3 separate regions of the Homo sapiens genome follow, and regions 2 and 3 are each linked to region 1. Evidence: promoter capture Hi-C in 16 types of primary human blood cells and fetal thymus (Javierre and others, 2016). All regions are on one chromosome and are shown on one strand. Each heading gives the region's core, a stretch centred on a gene start or on the middle of the fragment in contact. The rest is flanking DNA. Distances are from core to core; before and after follow the strand shown. Region 1 holds the start of ZP2 (zona pellucida glycoprotein 2). Region 2 overlaps REXO5 (RNA exonuclease 5). Region 3 has its middle 33 kb from the start of METTL9.

Region 1 (4,855 bases), core at 1,332-3,831:
CTCCTGCTTGGGGTCTCTGTGCTGCCCCTTAACCTTTTAGAAACCCCAAATTTGGGGGCTCTGACCAAAGCTGCCCTTTCCAAGGCAAAAACTTCCCGCTCTGGAGAAAGACACCATCTCGAGGGGAGTGAGTAGCGCGGTGGGAAGGGAGGTGGGGTCTGAGGGAGGCTGAATAAGCACATTAACCCATCACTTCTCTGACCACCTTCTCAATAGGGCTCTGAGTCTCACGTCTATGCTCCTTTTTCCTCTAATGTCTTATCATAGTCTTAACCATTGTGGCAATAAATTATATTTGTAGAAAAGGTGCCACTTTTCAGAAAAATATGCATAGAAGGAGAAACTATTGCTATCATGCTTTGGCTATAAAATGAAATCCTTTTACCATCTCTATCCCCAAAAACTTATCTGTATTTTGCTCCTTCTTCCCAATTCCGCTGGGATGTAATCTACTCAATTCCCGTAAGGAGGTTAACCACTGGCCACCACAGATTTTCTCGCCTCGCTCCCTCCAAGTATTTTCCAGGTTTTCCTGATTATAAGAATCACCTGTGGTGCTCGTTAAGTAAATATTTCCCAGGCACATCTTCTGGAGAGTCTAATTCAGCAGCTTTTGGGTGGGACCCTGGAATCTGTGATATTAATGAGAGCTCCATGTGATCCTTTTGATCAAGGAAGTCAGGGAAACAGTTAATCTCCAATGTTATTTCAGATGCCTCAGGTTACACCTCAAAGGCAACACATGAATCAATACAGTTTAGGATGATGCAAAAATAATTGCAGTTTTTGCCATTAAAATTAGTGGCAAAGGGCCGGGCACAGTGGCTCACGCCTGTAATCCCAGCACTTTGGGAGGCTGACACGGTTGGATCACTTGAGGCCAGGAGTTCGAGACCAGCCTGGCCAACATGGTGAAACCCTGTCTCTACCAAAAATACAAAAATTAGCTGGGCTTGGTGGTGGGCGCCTGTAATCCCAGCTACCCGGGAGGCTGAGGCAGGAGAATCGCTTGAATCCAGGAGGCAGAGGTTGCAGTGAGCCAAGATTGCGCCACTGCACTCCCACCTGGGCAACAGAGCAAGACTCCATCTCAAATACATACATACATACATAAAAGTAGCGGCAAAAACTGCAATCACTTTTGCACCAGCCTAATAATTGCAAGTGTCACCCACCACTTGAATGGAGTCTAAGCCTTATATCCACCTATTTTGGAACATGGGCTGCAGACATCTAGTTATCTCAAAGAGTGTGAGAGATGTTGAAAAAACACAACCATCAGGCCTCAGGAAATCTGAGTTCTCCACCTGGTCCCTGACATTGTTGGGGCAAGTTGCCTTGCCTCAGTTTCCCCACTGGGAAACTTCCAAGTGCTTTACAACAATATAACATTCTTATTAGATCACTACTCCCTTTTACCCAGAAGTTTTACTTTGAGGAATTTATCTTGAGGGTTACCCAAGGATATGTATCAGAATGCTCATCATGTTACTGCTTATAATGATGAAAAATTACAAGCCACCTTATGCTCATAATTAAGGAAATTATATAAACACAGATTTATCTCAAATTGAATATTATGCCACCCTAAAATGGTAACAGAGAGCTTTATGTTTAATAGTTATAAAGTGACAGTAGCAGATTACAAAACAGTATTTAAACTTTCCTCCCAGTGTTTTAAAAAAATTGTGTGTGGTGTTTGTAGAAACATGTCTAAAGTTACTCACCTAAATATTAGCAGTGGCACTATTATGAGTGACTTTTGCCTTTTCTCTGTATCCTTCTGAAATTGTATCTTTGCGGTAAGCTTAAGCTTTTACACTTGGGGGTCAACAAGGCTTCATTCATTTTTTTAAAGACACTTCCTGTGCATTATCAGGGTAACTTCTGCAGTAGCCAGAAGACTAGATGTTACTTAAAAGGTTTTAGGGTAGGTGCAATGGCTCACGCCTGTAATCCCAGCACTTTGGGAGGCCGAGGCACGTGGATCACCTAGGTCAGGAGTTCGAGACCACCCTGACCAACACGGTGAAACCCAATCTTTACTCAAAATACAAAAATTAGCCAGGTGTGGTGGCGTGCACCTGTAATCCCAGCTACTCAGGAGGCTGAGGCAGGAGAATTGCTTGAACCCAGGAGGCAGAGGTTGCAGTGAGCCGAGATTGCACCAGTGCACTCCAGCCTGGGTGACAGAGTGAAACTGAATCTCAAAAAAAAAAAAAAAATGTAGTGGTGTGAACAAGACTTGTTTTTTTCTCAATAAAGCCCATGATTCTCTTTGGCTCTACATTGCAGTTGTAAATAATTTGCCCAAAAGATCCTAATTTCCCCCATAGTTATAGGGAAAACACCAATTCACTCACCTGGAGCTGATTTCAGCAAACTCTGATTTCATGCCTGGCCCACAGGGCAGCTGGCAGAATACCCGGCGCAAGCTGTCAGGAATCAGAGGCCACTTCCTTCCCCAATCCTTCCGTTTCAGCTGGGAGAATGGGACAAGATTCAGGTGCCCCCAATGGGGAGAGGGTGTGGATGCGGCTGGCTTCCTGCTATAAAAACACAGAGCAGCCTACCCTCTACCTGGTTGATCTGGTAGTGTCTTCTGCTATGGCGTGCAGGCAGAGAGGAGGCTCTTGGAGTCCCTCAGGCTGGTTCAATGCAGGCTGGAGGTGAGTAATTCTGGAAGTGGAGGGAGGGGGTATGGTAGCTTTGTTTGTTAAAGTCCATTCTTCCTTGACTATCTCCCTGTCTCTTTCCAGCACCTACAGGTCGATTTCTCTCTTCTTCGCCCTTGTGACTTCAGGGAACTCCATAGATGTTTCTCAGTTGGTAAATCCTGCCTTTCCAGGTATGTCTCTTGGGTGACAGAAGTCTTCTTAGCAGAGAAAACAGGTTGCAGCTGGAAGGCCTAGCTGGCCAAGAAACACAGGCCTGGCTCAGACAACCTCCATTCACCCCCTTTATTACCTTGGTCAGGTTACTGGATCTTTCTTCTGCTAACCTGTAGACTCACTATACCTGCTAAATGAAAACTCAAACACTTGCACTGCCTTCCAATCCCTCACTGCCTCAAGCTTTATGGTATCCACAGAACAGCAAACCACCACACTAAGCCCTCATCTTTAGGAGCAGCAATCTTCAAACACAAACTCATGCTTAAGGAAAACATCGACATAACAAGCAAAACTGGAGCTGCTCACTTGACGTTCACCTGAGCCAGAGGCTGCAGAGTAGCAGATGATGGGCAAAACTTGATCTTTAAAAAAAAAAAAAAAAATGCAGCCAGGCGCCGGGGCTCACGCCTGTAATCCCAGAACTTTGGGAAGCCAAGGCGGGCAGATCACCTGAGCTCAGGAGTTTGAGACCAGCCTGGCCAATGTGGTGAAACCCCATCTCTACCAAAAATACAAAAACTAGCTGGGTGTGGTGGTGGGCACATGTAATCCCAGCTACTTGGGAGGCTGAGGCAGGAGAATCGCTTGAACCTGGGAGGCGGAGGTTGAGGTGGGTTGAGATCGTGCCACTGCACTCCAGCCTGGGTGACAGAGAGACTCCGTCTCAAAATAAATAAATAAATAAATAAAAGTCCTGGGACTTACCCAGGACTTTGTTTAACATCAATTTGCAAAACCTGTTGACAAAGCTTTTGTCAGTTTTTCGGGCCTGCCTCCATCTGCTCCACTGTCAAGGTGTTGACCTGGCTCCTACAGACCTGCTTGTCAACCCTAACCTGGGCTTCTTACTGGAACACTTCAAAAGCCCTGGGTACCTGATATTTTCCTTACAGTTCTTGGCATATTGTATTGTTGTCTTGGTCACTTGTTTGTGAGCTCTCCCAGGGTAGGGGACGATTCTTGCCTCCCTCATCTGGAATCCCTCCCATCTGAGAGGAGTCTATACACTTTTGTAGGAGTTGCATCACTCATGACTCAAAGCCCCCAAATGCTTCCTTTGCTCCTTAGGCACTGTCACTTGCGATGAAAGGGAAATAACAGTGGAGTTCCCAAGCAGTCCTGGCACCAAGAAATGGCATGCATCTGTGGTGGGTAGGTAACGTGTGTTATCTCCTCATAGTCCTGATTAGCAGACAGCCTTTGGCTTAGGTCAATCCTGTTTGGGGAGCAGAGTACCCAAACTCCTGCAGCAACGGCATCCAACTCCCATGATGCCATGGGGATACCTGATTTGCATGAAGCCACCCAGCATGGAAGACCTGTCTGTCTTCGAAAGTGTGTCTTATGCCAGCATCTCTGGGAAGCCTCTGGCTGCAAGTCATACCATCTCAAAGCTCAAGTTCTATCACTGAGTTGGGGCGGAAGTGAAGGGACTGAAGTACCTTAGAAATGGACTGGTGGTCTTGACTCTATAGCTTTGGACTGTCACTGAAATGTACTCAGCCATCCTGTCTAACCTGCTCTGGCCTTGGCAGATCCTCTTGGTCTCGACATGCCGAACTGCACTTACATCCTGGACCCAGAAAAGCTCACCCTGAGGGCTACCTATGATAACTGTACCAGGAGAGTGGTAAGTCATTGCTTTGAGCAGTTCTTGGGGAAGTACGTAGTAACCTAAGAGTTACTGGCAGTAAACTTGGCTAAGAACTTTCTCTTTGGAGTAAAGCAGTGGCTCTCAACCAAGGGGGTGGTGTCTCGTGTGTGGCTCTTCTTTTCTATTATAATCTGTCTAGGCCAGGTGTGATGGCTCACGCCTATAATCTCTGCACTTTAGGAGGCTGAGACGGGTGGATCACCTGAGGTCAGAAGTTTGAGACCAGCCTGGCCAACATGGTGAAACCCCATCCCTACTAAAAATACAAAAAACTAGCTGGGTGTGGTAGCACACACCTGTAATCCCA
Region 2 (4,855 bases), core at 732-3,231, 370 kb after region 1:
CTCACATGTAGAGTGGTTACACCTAAGCCTAGGGCTTGTTCTGAGACTTTACTTTTTTTACTCAAGTGGGGTTAGCAGCTACTTCTTACTCCAGAGAGCAGTAAGGACATAAGACTCCTGGTTTTAACTGGGGATAAATTATCTCCTTGAGGGACCAATAAATGTAGTTATACAAGAGCATATAAATGTGAAATGGGAATACAATGCCTATCTTTTAGAACGGTGAAAATTAAAGAGATGATTCATGTAAGTCCTCACTATGTGCCTAAATATCAGCAAAAGGCTTTTTCTCTAAGAACAGCTGAAATCCAGGGGACAGAGTCCTGAAGGGATACCCTTTCTAGTCCTTACCTCTTGGTTCCTGGCAGCAGGATGAGGCAGAGAGTGCCCGGGCACAAGCTGTTGTAGAGCTTTCCAATCTTCCGGCTCCAGCGCCAGGCTGCTATCTTCGGGTGGTCCAGTTTCAGAGTCTGGGATCAAAGCCATGTGTCGATACTCAGCCAGAACACTCTCTCGTTACCTTTGGAAGGGCTGCAACACTCTTCCTCTGCCTCTAAGGCTATGGGATTCCAGTAAAGGTTCCAGACAAATCCCTTTTCTAACACTGGAGCCCACACTGCAGGTTCTCTGCTGACCCAGCATCCCCAGGCCTCCAAGTTGGCTAAGGACTTCCTCAGGGGAGGACAGCTACTGTCCTTTCCTCCACATGGGTCTTCCAAGACCCCAAGCTAGGGGAGCCACATTGCTGATGAGGGGTCTAGTCTGGCTTCTGCCATTAAGTCTCTTTGTGACCTTGGGCAAGTGACTTACCAACTCTAGCCCCTACTTTTCATCTGTTAAGTATGAGAGATTAGACTAAGACAGGGTTTCCCAAGCTTCAGCCATTTACCTTCTACCTCCACTCTTCTGCTTGTATATCCCTCTAACATTTTTCCATAAAGTGAGTTAATTTCTTCCTTAGCCTTGTCTAACTAATGCCATCCACAAAATCATAGGCTCAATGTAGTTATTGTATACTTTAACAAGTATTAGCAAAACAAGTCCATTCAGATGTCTTAGATATAATAAAAAGACGGACAAGTCCATAATCATAAAAGTGAAAACAAAAAAGAAAAGACCATCTATGACAACCACAATTTATCTTGTGTATATACCACACTTTGGGAAACCCTAGACTAGATCACTGAATAATTGTCCAGCTCTCTGACTTCCTGCCTTTGTCCTTCAAAGTCCCTTGGAGATCTGGAAGACTAAAAAACTAAGTTTAGCAGGTATGGTGGGGGCAAAAGTATGAGAGATCTGCGAGAAAAGATGTGGCCAGGACTGGAGGAAGCTGGAGAGTGAAATAAGACTGAGGGCCAGGGTAGAAAAAAAAAAAAGATTAAAGGATTAAGTGTCACTGAGCAGGACTCTCCTGACATCTTCTCCAAGACGCCTTCACTCACTCACCTGCAAGGCCTCCTGTTCAAAGGGGGGAGGTACAACACGAAGCCCTGGGAGCCTTGTTGATTCAGGTGGTAAGCCTCTGAGCCAGGCATGGAGGTGCCTGGGGGTTAGGGCATGCCTGCCTTTCAGCTTCCAGTCCTTGCCTGTGAGAATGTTGAGGGCCTGCTGGGCACTGCCAAAACTTTTGAATTCTGAAAGCAAGAACCCCCACCTTATGTTATTAAGGGCCAAGAAAGCTGATCACCATCCAAGCTGCCTGGCCAGGGTCAAAGGAGAAGGACAGAATCAGGAACTGCTGCCCTGGTCCAGCCCAGGAGGTGAATCTTCCTTTCTCTGACCTCATGTTATCACCATCCCCAGTTTCCTTCCCCAAAGCTACATTCAGTAGCATAGACTTACTCAGGAAACAGTATTTTTTCTGCTTTCCACTTTTAAGATCTTTAGGCAAGATCACAGCTTCCAGGCCAAGAAAGAGGCGGGGCTCCTGCAATAGCTGTTCTTTGAAGGTTTCACTCACTCCAGACAGATATATAGAGCCTTGGTTTTCAGAATCTCCTTCCAGCTCATTCACGAGGGTGTCACAATCAAGCGTGAGCTCTGTCACAGGCCTCTGCACCTAACCAAGGAAAGTTGGTGTTAGTGGTAGAAAATCAATTTAATCCTCAGGCCTATTGGATACTAGCAAGTTGTTGCCATTACTAATAACTTCATTTTTCAGTTTCCTAAAATTTTCCGTTTCTTTTCTTTTCTGTAAAAGGAAACTAAAGATAATGGCCTCACAGAATTATGTTAGAGACTTAATTGATAAATACATATTTTCATGTAAACATATTCTCTTCAGTTTCCTGCCTCCCACCCTTAATGAAATTCTGTTTATGTGCACAAGAAACTTCAAAATACCACCATTTGATCTCCCTGAAAGGTGAAGAAAAGGGTAACCACAAAGAACCAACCAGAATAAACCACAGGGGACTTAAGTAGTAACAAAGAATGCAAGGAAGACCCAAATCTAGCCCAGGATGATTTCTGACACAAATGAAAGCCGTTATGTCTTCAATCACTGCCAGTAGGAGAATGTTAGACTTGGCTGAAGACTTTCCATAACAAAGTCTTGTGCGTGGGCCTCTTGAGAGTGTTTCCTATATGTCCTGGGGCACTATAAATACAGGCTGTGGTAGGCCAGACCCAAGCAAAGGGGGCTTTCTCTTGTCACCCTACCTTGATGCAGATACCATCTACCAGAATACCATCCAAGGATTCTATGGCCAGCTGGGCAGCTTCTAGGACTTCATACTGTATACAGAGATGAGGCTGCAGAAAGACCAAGATTTCCTCATCATTGCTTTCCAGCTCAAACTGCTAAAGAAGGGGTTGGGGAAAGGATTCAAACTACAGTGGCCAAAGCCACCAGAATGGATGCCTTTACTGTGCTGGGCTACACAAGTATTGATTGTAAACTGTCAACTTTAAATGGGATCATCAAAGTTCAGAAACTAGCTTTCAGACAACAAATAACTTTGTCATTTAAAATGGAACTACCCAACAGGCTTTTCATAATATTTATTATGCATCACTAAAGTCATCACTGCAAGTCACGGGCAGAGATTCCCATTTGTCTTTTGGCTTAACTTTATAAGCTTGGGAAGGATAAGTTCTTCCACTGGATAGGCTACATCTTCAAATGGTCTGCTTTTCTGTTTGTTAACTCGGAGTAACTAAATCTTTGTGATTATCTGAGCCATAGCATCAATATGGAGATAAAAGCCTTCCCATAGAAAAGTTTCATGACACTGGATTTGGCAATGGTTTCTTGAATATGACATCAAAGGCAGGCAACAAAATTAAAAATAGACAAATTAGACTTCATAAAAATTAAAACCTTTTGTATATCAAAGGACACTAACAGCAGTGTCAAAAAGCAACCCACAGAATGGAGAAATAGTTGCAATCACATAGCTAATAAAAGATTAATATCCAGAATGTACAGAGAAATCCTACAATTCAACAATAAAAAAGCCAAACAACCTGATTTAAAAATGGGCAAACACTGCAGAGTAGCTGGAACTGAAAAAAATAAATAAGAAAAAAAGGGCAAACAAGTGAATAGACTTTGCTGTAAAAGATGTACAAATTGCCTGCGACACTCAACATCACTAATCATTAGGGAAACGCAAATCAAACCCAAATGAGATACCATTTCACATCCATTAGGATGGCTACTATTAAATAAAATAGAAAACAAGTGTCAGTGAAGATGTAGATAAGTTGGAACCTTTGTTCTTTGCTGGTAGGAATGTAAAATGGTATAGCCACTGTGGAAAACAGTATAATGGTTCCTCAAAAAATTAAACATAGAATTACTATTTGATCCATCAATTCCACTTCTGGGTATACACCCAGAAGAACTGAAAGCAGGGACTTGAACAGATATGTGTACAACCATGTTCATAGCAGCATTATTCATGATAGTCAAAGGTAGAAACAACCCAGGGTCAGGCACAGTGGCTCACGCCTGTAATCCAAGAACTTTGGGAGGCCAAGGTGGGTGGATCTCTTGAGTCCAGGAGTTCAAGATCAGCCTGGGCAACATAGAGAGACCCTGTCTTACAAAAAATTAGCCAGGCGTGCATGCCTGTGGTCCCAGCAGGAGGCTGAGGTGGGAGGATTGCTCGAGCCCAGGAGGTTGAGGCTGTAGTTAGTTGTGATCACGCCACTGAACTCCAGCCTGGGTGAGCAAGACCCTATCTCAAAAAAAAAAAAAACAAACAAAACAAAGGGTAGAAACAAGAAACAACCCAAATGTCCATCAACAAATGGATAAACAAAATGTGGTATATACATGAAATGGAATATTATTTTGCCTTGAAAATGAAATTCTAATACATGCTACAACATGAATGAACCTTGAAGACATGCTAAATGAAATAAACCAGACACAAAAGGACAAATATTGTATGATTCCACTTATGTGAGGTACGTACACAGAGTAGTCAAATTCATAAAGACAGAAAGTAAAACAATGATTACCAGGGGCTGGGGGGAGGGGTAATAGGAAATTATTGCTTAATAGGAAATTTCAGTTCGGGATGATGAAAAAGTTCTAGAGATGGATGGTGATGATAGCTGCACAATATCAACATACTGAATGCCACTTAAAAATGGTTAAAAAGGTACATTTTATTTTATATGTATTTTACCCGCCACCCCCGCAACCAAAAAAAGGGGCCAAGAGAAAGGAAGATGTTATAGTCCCTTGCTATACACTTCTCATCCCCCAATCCATCTTCTCAGGGACAATCTTTGTATTTTTATTTTTAGTCATAGAAAAGCCATTAATAAAAGATTTGGAAGCTGGGTGCAGTGGCTCATGCCTGTAATCCCAGCACTTTGGGAGGTGGATCACTTGAGG
Region 3 (4,855 bases), core at 1,443-3,942, 350 kb before region 1:
AAAGTGCTGGGATGACAGGGGTGAGTCACTGCATCTGGCCCATCCAACAGGTTTTAAACAAAGTGGTAGGATCTGTGCATTCCTTTCTAGTACTAAACTTACTTCCATTCAACACACTTAGAGGTTACAAGAGGAAACCAGGGTTAATAATATTATTCAGAAGTGACATGGCCTGATTTTCTGCTAAGAACTTTCACGAAGCCCAAAGATTCCTATGGTTCTCAGTTACATTCCAGATAGATTGTATTTTTCATTTAAATCATGCACAGTAAAAGGGGGCCCTTGATTACTTAGAGGCTGATTGTCCAGTCTGCAGCTTCTTTTTGGTGACATGGGTTATCTAAAATAGCACCTTATTAATTCTACCAATTGAGGAAAGATGTGAAAAAGTCAAACTATATGATAGAAGAAGAGGAGGCAGTTTGTTACATTTTCATACTAGAACCAATGGCTATTACCAGAACCTCTGTATATAACTTATTCATCTAAAAAAAATAGGTCCCATGTGATTATTAATGTGCTAGGCACTGGACTAAATACTGGGTATTCAATGGTAGGTGAAACTGCTAAAGTCTCTATCTTCATGGAGCCTACCTACCTCCTAGTGTGCGAGATAGGTCTTATTTAAATAGTCATAAGTTTGATTTACACATGATTATATAAGATGACTGTAGAAAGTGCTATGATAGAAAAACAAGGTATTAAATGAGAGCTCATTGTTAGAGGGTCTGGCTCATGCTGGGCAAGTGGAGGCCAGAGAATGCTCCCCAGAGGAAATATTTGAGCTGAGTTCTAAAGGACAAGTAGGCATTAACTAGGAGGGTTCTGCCTAGAATCATGTGCAAAACCTCCGGCCACCACTACCTCCTCCTCTAAAAGCCACAGCTGGAGCCAGGCATGGTGGCTTATGCCTGTAATCCCAACATTGTGGGAGCCCAAGGCAGGCAGATTGCTTGAGCCTAGGACTTCAAGACCAGCATGATCAACATGGTGAAACCCCATCTCTACAAAACATACAAAAATTAGCTGGGTGTAGTGGCGCTCAGCTGCAGTCCCAGCTACGCAGGGGGCTGAGGTGGGAGGATTGCTTGAACCTGGGAGGCAGAGGTTGCAGTGAGCCGAGATCATGCCACTACACTCCAGCCTGGGTGACAGAGCAAAACCAGAAGAAGAAGAAGATAAAAGATAAAAGCCATAGCTGGGAATGTCCTTGGTGCTCTGAACTGGATGACATTTGTTAGGCATGGCCATCCCACAGACTCACTGCTCCTCAAGATCACCCTTCAGTTATCCAAGAACTGATGGTTACCTACCCATGCTCTGCTCTTCTGCTGCTACTTTCTGGGCTCTGAGATGACCACAGAGGCCAGGGTCAAATGCTGGGCCACTCACCACATACTGATGATGCTGTCAAAATGTGGTTACCCTTCTGCTCCACCTCAATTATCTGTGGAAAACCTAATTTAAGGGGTATATGGTGTTTTGTCTGCCCGCATTTCTTCCTGTAAGAAACACGCTTTCCCCTCTTCCCTAGTAAACTGTCTCAGTCCTTACGAGTTGGTGGAGCTGGACTGCCTCACTTCCATCCCCAAGGTCAGGTACATGCCCAGATCTGGTCAGAGGACTTCATGTGTCAAGGTACAACTACTGCCTCAGCCATGAGCACTTGACTCATACAGTGCCCATTAGCGTCCACCTGGGGACTTTTTCTGTGCTACTGGAACAAAAGTGCATGTTTCCTCACCATCTTGGGCTGTTAGCCCTATGTGAACATGGAGGTATCTTGCTGCCATGCGATGAAAAGCTTATACACAACGCAGAGGGTAAGTCAGAGAAACTAGTTAATGACATAATTTGAGATCCAAATCTGCCTGACTTTTCAGCTACAGAAGCCAATAAATTCCCTTTTTTTTCTTTTTTTCTTTTTTTTTGAGACAGAGTCTCACTGTCGCCCAGGCTGGAGTACAGTGGCGTGATCTTGGCTCACTGCAACTTCCACCTCCCGGGTTCAAGTGATTCTTCTGCCTCAGCCTCCAGAGTAGCTGGGACTACAGGCGTGCACTACCATGCCTGGCTAATTTTTTGTATTTATAGTACAGGCAGGGTTTCACCGTGTTGCCCGGGCTGGTTTAGAACTTCTGACCTTAGGTGATCCACCCGCCTCGGCCTCCCAAAATGCTGGGATTATAGGCATGAGCCACTGTTCCCAGCCCGAATTCCTTTTTTATTTAAGCTAACCTGCATTGAATTTCTGTCACTTGTAGCCAAAGTGGTTTGAATAATGCACCTTTCCAATTGGCACTTGTGCCCAAATTACCATAAACTGGCTGTCTCTGACCACTCTAGGGAAAGGATTCAGTGATTTCTAATTGACCACTACCAGTGAAGACATGGGAGGTTTGAAATAGCTGAGCCCAGATTCTGAGAACGACAGGACAAGGTCATGATTGTACTTTTGAACTTGATGTTGGAGGTGTTCACAAGCATGACGCCTCTCCTGGACTTTGTTTACTGATAGGAACCACAAGATAGACGAGACAGCAGAATTAGGCCAACAATGGGTGCAAGGTGCCAAAAAGGTAATAGAAACCCAAGTTCCACTTTGAAGCAGCATAAATCAGACATTTCTCAAACATTAAAAACGGAAGTGGCCTGATCAAGACCTTTAAACGGAGTAAAAAGCCACGAAGCCAAGGCCTTGAGCAGCTAGTCAGAGAATTATTGCAATATGTGCTCAGAGACACAGGGTTTCATGAAAAGCCCAGTCTCTGCCTGGCTGCAGCACCTCTGTGCTTTTTGTCCCAGCATTTGCTTAGCAGCAGAACCTCATTATCCTTCAGTGTTCTGTAGTTATAACAGATTCCAGCTTCAGGGGGAAAAAAATGGATTCCAGCTGCCAGGGGTTCTCTCTGGGAGATTTTCTATCTCTGAGACGAAATTGTCTTTTTCTCCCTTTTTTCATGGTGAGAGGGGCATGGAGTACACCTCTGATAATCTGCAGAGGCAAAGCCTTGCATGAGCATGCTGACAACCCTGCAGAGAGAAAGCCTTAGGCTGGAAGTTCAAGGGCAGCCAGGAGAATGAACATTTCGATGAATAAAGCAATTTGATAACTACCATGTTGTGGTCTAAGACCCACCACTTACAGGCTTACATGGTGATTACTGAAGCTGCAACTATTTTAATGGCTTCATCTACTTTAAAGTACTGGTGATTTTTCTACTACTTCATTTAATTGCTTGATGTTTCTTGGAAGAGTTCTTCGGTCTTTCTGCTAAAATGTTATCCCAAGCTAGGAGAGATGCCATGATTTCAGAGAATTTCTTTTCCTCTATAATATTATATATTTTCCTCTGGGTTATCAATGAACCTACTGACTACTTTGAGTATTATGCCTTTAGGATGTCTTCACCTCTCATTTCCTTAACATTTTTAAATGAATCTCTGATAGAAAAATGAATCTGAAGCCTTGCTTATGCTTTGATTCATTCAACAAATATTTATTGCACACTTACTGTTTTAGATGCCTGGGATACAGAGTAAATAAATCAACAATGATCCTTGCCTTCAACAAAGCTTACATTCTGGTGGAGGCAAAGAGATAATACATAAATAAATTTAATATCATCTTTTGTAATAATAACCATTACACCTCTGCTTATGAAAAAAATTGCATTCAATTTTTGCTCACAATCTTCTTTTTTTTTTTTTTTTTTTTGAGACAGAGTCTCACTCTGCCACCTAGGCTGGAGTGCAGTGGCATAATCATACTTCACTGCAACCTCTGCCTCCTGGGCTCAAGTGACCCTCCTGCATCAGCCCCACAAGTAGCTGGGACTACAGATGCATGCCACAATGCCCAGCTAATTTTTCTATTTTTTGTAGAGATGGGATTTTGCCATGTTTCCCAGGCTGGTCTTGAACTCCTAGGCTCAAATGATCTGCCTACCTCGGCCTCCCAAAGTGCTGGGATTACAGGCACTGAGCCACTATGCTCAACTAATCTTCTGTTCCCTTCCTTCCTTCCTTTTCCTTCCTTCCTTCCTCTCTCTCTCTTCCTTCCTTCCTCTCTCTCTTCCTTCCTTCCCTTCCTTCCCTTCCCCTCTTCCTTTCTCTCTCTCTCTTTTCTTTCTTTTTTCTGACAGAGTCTTGCTCTGTCACTCAGGCTGGAGTGCAGTGGCACAATCTTGGCTCACTGCAACCTCCACCTCCTGGGTTCAAGTGATTCTCTTACCTCAGCCTCCTGAGTAGTTGGTATTACAGGCACACACCACCACAGCCAGCTACTTTTTTTTTTTTGTATTTTTAGTAGAGACGGGGTCTTGCTATGATGCCCAGGCTGGTCTCAAACTCCTAGACTCAAGTGATCTGCCTGCCTCAGCCTTCTAAGGTGCTGGGATTACAGGCATGAGCCACTGCACCCAGCCTAATCTTCTATTCTCAAAAGAAGAAAGTATCCACCCGCAGGTAACAGAATTCTAAAATATTACTGTCTGGACCCTTTTACTTCATTTTCCTAGCTTATACCTGCCAAATTATTGGTAAATTCAGCTCTGTGAGGTGAAGAGGGCCATATAAATGATCATACTCTCACCTTGAATCCTATCTTTAGGATCTTCTACATCACGAGACTAAAGCAAAGTCTGACTCCTTTCCACTCTTCTGCTATCAACATCAGCTCAAAAATACATAAAATTAATAAGGTTGCTTCCTGATGGCATCAGTGAAATAACTTTATGGTCATTCATATAAAAACAGACAACCCTGGCCCAGCGCAGTGGTCCATACCTGTAATCCCAACACTTTGGGAGGCTGAGGCAGGTGGATCACTTGAGGCCAAGAGTTTCAGACCAGC

The links. The method cuts DNA at HindIII sites, captures the fragments that hold promoters and counts their contacts. A CHiCAGO score of 5 or more calls a contact.
Region 2: a fragment that was not itself captured here is called in contact with the fragment with the promoter of ZP2 in region 1 in 1 of 17 cell types (naive B cells); the score reaches 5.4 in naive B cells.
Region 3: a fragment that was not itself captured here is called in contact with the fragment with the promoter of ZP2 in region 1 in 5 of 17 cell types (naive B cells, total B cells, total CD4 T cells and 2 more); the score reaches 15.0 in naive B cells.

What each region holds. Positions count from the first base shown.
Region 1 is chr16:21,209,300-21,214,154 of GRCh38, reverse strand. ZP2 (zona pellucida glycoprotein 2) reads left to right here and starts at 2,581. Exons shown (of 19, transcript NM_001376232.1): 1 at 2,581-2,669; 2 at 2,760-2,848; 3 at 3,963-4,046; 4 at 4,430-4,524. The coding sequence starts at 2,608. The HindIII fragment of the contact is 1,261 bases long and covers 1,816-3,076 here.
Region 2 is chr16:20,841,836-20,846,690 of GRCh38, reverse strand. REXO5 (RNA exonuclease 5) reads right to left here. Exons shown (of 20, transcript NM_030941.3): 16 at 2,665-2,757; 17 at 1,846-2,062; 18 at 1,450-1,637; 19 at 352-470. Among named protein-coding and RNA genes, the nearest start is that of REXO5, 38 kb to the right of the region's middle. The HindIII fragment of the contact is 2,208 bases long and covers 878-3,085 here.
Region 3 is chr16:21,563,804-21,568,658 of GRCh38, reverse strand. No RefSeq gene overlaps it. Among named protein-coding and RNA genes, the nearest start is that of METTL9, 33 kb to the left of the region's middle. The HindIII fragment of the contact is 1,772 bases long and covers 1,807-3,578 here.